2 separate regions of the Homo sapiens genome follow, and region 1 is linked to region 2. The links are contacts of gene promoters, found by promoter capture Hi-C in human tissues and cell types (Jung and others, 2019). All regions are on one chromosome and are shown on one strand. The core of a region is centred on a gene start or on the middle of the fragment in contact, and the rest is flanking DNA. Distances in the headings are between cores, read along the strand shown.

The links. The method cuts DNA at HindIII sites, captures the fragments that hold promoters and counts their contacts. A contact is called where the count stands out against the background at its distance.
Region 1: a contact is called between a fragment that was not itself captured here and the fragment with the promoter of EEFSEC in region 2, in 1 of the 25 tissues and cell types used here (dorsolateral prefrontal cortex).

Annotation. Positions count from the first base shown.
Region 1 is chr3:128,689,078-128,693,077 of GRCh38, reverse strand. No RefSeq gene overlaps it. Among named protein-coding and RNA genes, the nearest start is that of RAB7A, 35 kb to the left of the region's middle. The HindIII fragment of the contact is 7,361 bases long and covers 1-4,000 here.
Region 2 is chr3:128,151,245-128,154,932 of GRCh38, reverse strand. EEFSEC (eukaryotic elongation factor, selenocysteine-tRNA specific) reads right to left here and starts at 1,452. Exons shown (of 7, transcript NM_021937.5): 1 at 1,110-1,452. The coding sequence starts at 1,425. It also overlaps a transcript of RUVBL1 not described here. RefSeq lists a silencer at 942-1,461 and an enhancer at 1,592-1,821. The HindIII fragment of the contact is 4,118 bases long and covers 1-1,839 here.

The DNA.
Region 1 (4,000 bases), core at 997-3,496, 540 kb before region 2:
CCCGTGCTTGCAGCATCTGAAGTGGGGGGCAGCCTTGTGGGACTAGAGCCCTCAACCTGTGGGATCTGACACTATCTCCAGGTAGATGGTGTCAGAACTGAACTGGAGGACACCCAGCTGATGTCTACTGGGGAATCCGCAGAATCGATGTTTGGTGTGTGGGGAAATAACCCCCGCATATCTGCTGTTGGCAGTGTTGAGTGACTGGGTAAGAGTAGGAAAAATCACTTAGGTTTGTTCCTCTATCTCACACAGATATTAAGTATGTTCAGATTGCTGTGCAACCCTTGCTTATTTTGAAAATGGGTTTTCTGTTGTTGAGTTTTAGGAGTTCTGCATGCATTCTGGATATTAATCTCTTATCAGATATATGATTCACAAATATTTTCTCCTATTCTGTGTGTTGTGTCAAAAACACAATTTCAACACATTGAGTTTTAAAGATTTGGCTAGATGTGGTATCTCATGCTTGTAATCTCCTTACTTTGGGAGGCCGGGGTGGGGGGATCACCAGAGCCTAGGAGTTTAAGGTTACAGTGAGCTAGGATTGCACTACTGCACTGTAGCCTGGGTGACAGAGCAAGACACTGTCTGTAAAAAAAATAAAGATCTAATTAGCTTTTATTGGTGATTCATGAACTGAGCAACATCCAGCCTACAAAATAGACAGGAGCTCTACCAGGCATGGCAGAGCAGTAGGTTTTTCTAAGGCAGGCAGCTTGACCAGGAACAAGGAAACAGCATAGTGGAAAAAGTGGATTGGTTGGCTGGGCGCGGTGGCTCATGCCTGTAATCCCAGCACTTTGGGAGGCCAAGGAGGGCAGATCACGAGGTCAGGAGATCGAGACCATCCTGGCTAACATGGTGAAACCCCGTCTCTACTAAAAATACAAAAAAAATGAGCCGGGCTTGGTGGCGGGCGCCTGTAGTCCCAGCTACTTGGGAGGCTGAGGCAGGAGAATGGCGTGAACCCGGAAGGCGGAGGTTGCAGTGAGCCGAGATTGCGCCACTGCACTCCAGCCTGGGCTACAGAGCGAGACTCCATCTCAAAAAAAAAAAAAAAGTGGATTGGTTAACATTAGGTTCCTTCGGGTTACTTTCCTTGCATGGCTTAAAGCAGAGGGGACTTCCTTATCAAGCAGCTTAGGTTGAATGGGCCCCTTTTGATTGGTTGCTGTGAATCTATTTTTTTGTAAAACTGACCTATTGGGGATTTGACTGTTGCCTCTCTCCTGATTTCTCAGAAGGTCAGATTTTTTTTTTTTTTTTTAGACAAGAGTTTTGCTCTGTTGCGCAGGCTGGAGTCCAGTGGCACGATCTCAGCTCACGGCAACGTTTGCCTCCTGGGTTCATGCAATTCTCCTGCCTCAGCCTCCCAAGTAGCTGGGATTACAGACATGCACTACCACACCCAGCTAATTTTTGTATTTTTAGTAGAGATGGGGTTTCACCATGTTGGTCAGGCTGGTCTCGAACTCCTGACCTCAAGTGATCCACCCGCCTCGGCCTCCCAAAGTGCTGGGATTACAGGCGTGAGCCACCACGCCCAGCCCTAAGGTCAGATCTTATAAGCAAACAGCTTAGGTTTCAGTTTGGTGACATGGAACCTTAGCATGAGTGACTCCATTTTGGGTCAGCCTGTAGGGGCCTAGTGTAGGAGGAGCTCAGTACAAATCAATGGCCTCCATTTGGCCAGGCACTGTGGCTCACACCTGTAATTCTAGCACTTTCAGGGGCCGAGGTGGGAGGATCCCTTGAGCTCAGGAGTTCAACAATAGCCTGGGCAGTATGATGAAACCTCTTCTCTACAAAAAAATAGTAGTCCCAATTACCGGGGAGGATGAAGTGGTAAGATCGCTTGAGCCCAGGAGGTCAAGACTGCAGTAAGTCATGATGGCATCGCTACACGCCAGCCTGGGCAACAGAGTGAGACCGTGTCTCATAAAACAAACAAACAAAAAAACCAAATCAATGGCCTCCCATAAATATACCAGAACCCTTTGTTTTTCTTTGATGCTGTTCAGGCTCAGAAAATGATACCCCAAAGTATGCTGCTTTAGCATGCTGAGTGCTTTGAACTAAAGGAGACTGAAAGGTTCCAGAAGCAAAGTCTCTCTCTGACCTTCTCCTGCCCTCCTATCTCCCATCCCTCTTTCTCCACTGAAGTGAGAATCAGAACCCTTCTTCCCAAGGCAGGTTGTAGTAACTAGAATCCCACTCCCCCAGAGCTAGCCACAAAACCTAGAAAAGTTACTCTGTCTAGGCTGGGCACGGTGGCTCATTCCTGTAATCCCAGCACTTTGGGAGGCCGAGATGGGCGGATCACCTGAAGTCAGGAGTTCGACACCACCCTGGCCAACATGGTGAAACCCCGTCTCTACTAAAAATACAAAAAAAAAAAAAAAAAAAAAAAGTTGGGCGTGGTGGCACACGCCTGTAGTCCCAGCTACTCAGGAGGCTGAGGCAGGGGAGGTTGAGGCAGGAGAATTGCTTGAACCCAGGAGGCAGAGGTTGCAGTGAGCTGAGATTATGCCACTGCACTCCAGCCTAGATGACAGAACAAGACTGTCTCAAAAAAAAAAAAAAAAGAAAGAAAAAAAAAGCGAGGTTACTCTCCTCTTCTCCCTTGAAGACCCTCATTCCAGAAGAGTCCTGCCGATACCTAGGGCAAAGAAATGCTACACTGAGAGACCAAGAAGAATTTGAACCTTACTGGGTTTCTTCCCCTCAGTGTATTACTATTAGATCACACCCTTTTTGTCCAATCATATTTCTACATGGCTGTCCATTCTTCATTCAACCTAAGCATACAAATAGTTTTCCCTTGGTCTTTAGGTCTTCATTTCCAGAAGCTCCTGTATTGTGTAAAATGTTGTAAATAAGTTTGTTATTATTTTCTCTTGTAATTCTGTCTTTTGTCATAGGCATGTTGGCCATGACCTTTATGATTGGTGAGGAAATGTATCAAAGCTTTCCAACCCTTCAATGCACAAAAGTTAATTTCAATGAGGTCTAATTTGTCTTTTTTTTTGAGACAGAGTCTCACTCTGTAGCCCAAGCTGGAGTGCAGTGATGCAATCTTGGCTCACTGCAACCTCCTCCTCCAGAGCTCAAGCGATTCTCGCCTTGGCCTCCTAAGTAGCTGGGACTACAGGAGCACGCCACCATTCCCAGCTAATTTTTCTGTATTTTTAGTAGAGATGGGGTTTCACCATGTTGCCATGGGTGGTCTCGAACTCCTGAGCCCAGGTGATTCACCCGCCTCAGCCTCCCAAAGTGCGTGAGCCACCACACCCGGCCCCAGTTTGTCTATTTTTCTTTTGTTGCCTGTGCCTGTGGTGTCATAGCCACAAAATCATCACCAAATCCAAAATCATGAAGCTTTCCCTCCATCCTTGCTTCTAAGATTTTTATAGTTTTAGCTCTTATATTTTTTTTTTTTCAGGCGGAGTCTTGCTCTGCTGCCCAGGCTGGAGTGCAGTGGCGCGATTTTGGCTCACTGCAACCTCGGCCTCCTGGGTTCAAGCGATTCTCCTGCCTCAGCCTCCCGAGTAGCTGGGATTATAGGCGCACATCACAACACCTGGCTATTTTTTTTCAGTAGAGACAGAGTTTCACCATGTTGGCCAGGCTGGTCTTGAACTCCTGACCTCAGGTGATCCACCGGCCTCGGCCTCCCATAGTGCTGGGATTACAGGCGTGAACCACCACGCCTAGCCAGCTCTTACTTTTATGTCTTTGAGAGTGTATTGTGTAGTGAAAACACCCTGTAAACCACATCTTTCCTCTACTCTCACATGACAACAATCATCAACATCAAGACTTCTGTGGCCAAATGTGTAGGGGGTTTTCCCCACACATCAAGCAGTGGACACCAGGTAGGTGTCCTCTAATTCAGTTCCGACACTATCTGATAGTGTCAGATCTCACAGGTTGATTGCTCATTCTCCAAGACCACCCTCTCCCCCAACACCAGTGGCAAGTCCAGACCAGAACTCCA
Region 2 (3,688 bases), core at 203-2,702:
AGTACCCACCACGACCGAAAACACACATGCCCCTTGCCCCAGCCAGTTATTATCTATTATCCTACATATATGCGAACATACCAAAGAGTTCTGTTCTAGAATATTCACTGCAAAATGGTTTGTAAATACTGGAAACAGCATAAACGTCCATCATTAAAAGATTTGTTCAGAAAATGTTGGTACAGGCCGGACGTGGTGGCTCACGCCTGTAATCCCAGGACTTTGGGAGGCCAGGGCGGGCGGGTCATGAAGTCAGGAGTTTGAGACCAGCCTGACCAACATGGTGAAACCCGTCTCTACTGAAAATACAAAAAAATTAGCCGGGCGTGGTGGCGCGCGCCTGTAATCCCAGCTACTCAGGAGACTGAGGCAGGACAATCGCTTGAACCCAGGAGGCGGAAGTTGCAGTGAGCCGAGATCGTGCCACTGCACTCCAGGCTGGGCGACAGAACAAGACTCTGTCTCAAAAAGAAAAAAAAAAAAAGAAAAAGAAAATGTTGGTACAAGGGTGCAGTTGAATTCTATGTGAGCTTTAAAAAGAATGATGTAGCTTTGTGTACAGATATGGGGCACTCTCCAGACACAATGTTGAGTGAAATCGTGTCTAAAAGGATGAGGGAAAGAGGGATTTATACATACACACAGATATGCTTGTATTGACGTGGAGCCTTTCTGAAATGATATACAAAAACTGGTAGCAGCGGTTGGCTCTAGGAACGGGAATCAGACCAAATGACAGGTGAATGAAGACAGCCTTTGTATGTATACCCTTTTTGTAGCTTGTGAGTTTTCTTATTTTGAGTTTTCTTTACTTGACCATGTATTATAAACACATTTGGTAGGGATTTTTTGATTTTTTTTTTTTTTTTTTTTTAAGGAAGGCGCCTTGCAGCTCGGTTCTGCTGGATGGGAAAAGCTGAATCTCAAAGCCTCCGCTCACTTGCTGCGGAGCCCTAGGCAAGTCACGTCCGCCTCTTGGGGCGTCAGGAGCCCCACCAATGAGGTGGGGCGATTTCCCGTCCCGGCAAAGGCTCGAGCGAATTCGGACACGGGGCCCGGTCGCTCCGCCCGCGTCCCTGAGCCCGGCTCCCGCCCCGGCCCGCGCTCACCGCCGATGATGGTCCGGATGAGGGAGGCGTGCCCGGGGCAGTCGACCAGCGTGACCTGAAGCAGTGGCTCGCCGGGCTCGGGCTCGGCCTCGGGCGCTGCCTGGAACTCGGGCAAAGACGACCGCAGGCGCGCGGGCAGCGGCACCGAGAAGCACGAGAAGCCCAGATCGAGCGTGATGCCGCGCTCGCGGCTCTGCGGCTGCTTGTCAAAGGCGGCGGTGGAGGCTGTGGTGCTTAGCGCCCGCGCCAGCGCCGTCTTGCCGCTGTCGATGTGGCCCAGCACGCCCACGTTCACGTTCACCCGCCGCCCTGCCATGCCGCCGCCGCCGCCTCGGACACCCGCCCGGCCCGCCCCTCACCTCCCTCGGTAGTCGCCGCGGTCCGGCCCGTTAAGTTGCCCCCCCGTAACCGGCGCGCTGTGCACACCCGTTCCGGCCCGGAAGCTTCCGCCCTCCTGAGGCTCACGGGCACAGCCGAGCGCCGTGCTCCGAGTGGGTGGTCTAGGAACTGGAGGTCACCGTAGGCAGGGTTTCTCTCTCACGTGGCTCCTCCTGCCTGAAGCCTCTAGGAGCCCGAGATGGAGGGATCCTTCTGAGAAGTGAAGCCATTTGGACTTTCTGGGTGAGTGGAGACTTGGAGAACTTTTCTATAGCTATCAAGAGGATTGTAAAATGCACCAATCAGCGCTCTGTAAAACGCACCAATCAGTGCTCTGTAACATGCACCAATCAGCAGGATCCTAAAAGAAGCCAATCACAGGGAGGATTGAAAAAAGGGCGCTCTGATAGGACAAAAACGGAACATGGGGGGGCGAAGGGGGGCGGGGGGGGCGGGGTGGGCGGGGGGAAGACGGGGGCGGGGGGGGCGGGAAGACGGGGGCGGGGGGGAGGGCGGGGGGACGGCGGGGGGCGGGGGAGGGCGGGGGGACGTGGGGGAGGGGGCAAATAAGGGAATAAAAGCTGGCCACCCCCGCCAGCAGCAGCAACCCTCTCAGGTGCCCTTTCGCATTGCAGAAGCTTTTTGCTCTTCACAATAAATCTTGCTGCTGCTCACTCTTTGGGACTGTGCCATCTTTAAGAGCTTTAACACTCACTGCGAAGGTCCGCGGCTCCATTCTTGAAGTCAGCGAGACTAGGAACCCACTGGAAGAAACCAACTCCGGACACACTTCCAATCATTCATACATTTCAGCAAGATCTTACCAAGTGCCTGGTGGGTTCCGCTGGGCTACAGTGCCCGCTAATATTACATTCAGGGGGTGAGGGCTAAGTCAAACAATACAGCCTGAACCAGACCATTTCAGAGAGCGAGAAGTCTCCTAGGGAAAATAAAAGCTGAGATAAAAAGGAGCAGGAGAGGGAGGATGGACAGCTACCTAACTGTGGGTCAGGGAAGACATCTAGGAGTTGCTGTTTGAGTTGAAACTCCAGTGTTGAGAAGGAGCCAACCATGGGAAAAGATGGTTTGAAGATGGAAGAGGACAACATTATCTCTGACTCAGAAATTCTCACCCTGAGAGTCTGTAGCCTGGGCTTAGGAGAGGCCACAAACCTCTAAATTGAACGCACAATGTGTTGTGATGTGCTCTTGCTAGACAGAGGGTCGACAACTCTCACTAGATTCTGAAGTGTCTAGAACCACAAAAAAGGTTGTCAGCCATAGTCACCAACCAGAGGTAACAAACCTAAGTGTCTGCTCTGGCCAGGTGGTGGGTAAATCAAAGAAGAGAAGTTAAAAGAGTCTAAGATGACAGGGAGTGGTGGGGACCTGGGAGACCTGGAGAGCCCTTTTCCTGTGCAAAGAGGGAAGCCACTGCTCAGTCTCAGCCAGTGATACCAGGCAGGAATGCTAGCCCAACATTGCCTCCTCCTTCCATTTTTCTGGAGAAGAGAGTGTTTTTGTAACACTGTGGCGGTGGAGCACAAAGTTCACAGGATCTTACCTTTGCCCTCTGTGATGAGCCAGACCATGTGCGGATGTATTCATGCTTGCAGTAACTGCCTCCTTCGTTCCACCACTCTCCACTAGGAACAGAGTCCATGTCATAGACTGAATTGTGTCCCTCTCAAATTCATATGTGGACACCCTGACCCCCAGTGTGATAGTATTTGGAGATGGGACGTTTGGGAGGTTAGATGAGATCATGAGAGCGGGCCCTTGTGATGGGATTAGGGTCCTTACAAGAAGAGAACAGAATCTTTGTTTCCGTTTTCCCACCTTGCAAATAGGAAACTGTAAAAATACGCCTCCCATTAAAAAAAATCTAGTAGTAAAAGCAGTAAACGTATTTAAAAGGGAGGGTTAGTAAATAGGTAATAAGAGCTTTAGAGGCTTTATGTACCTCTGAGAAATATTTCAACTAACAAAGACTTTGTACAGGGCCTGGCTTCAAATAAACCTCATTTCTTACCTCTGTTTTAAACAGAATCCTGAAATGGTAATGAAAAGAAAAAAGGTTTGGCTGGGCACGGTGGTTCATGCCTGTAATCCCAGCACTTTGGGAGGCTGAGGCAGGCAGATCACTTGATATAGTTTATATATCTATATATAGAATATATATAGATTTTATATATAGATAT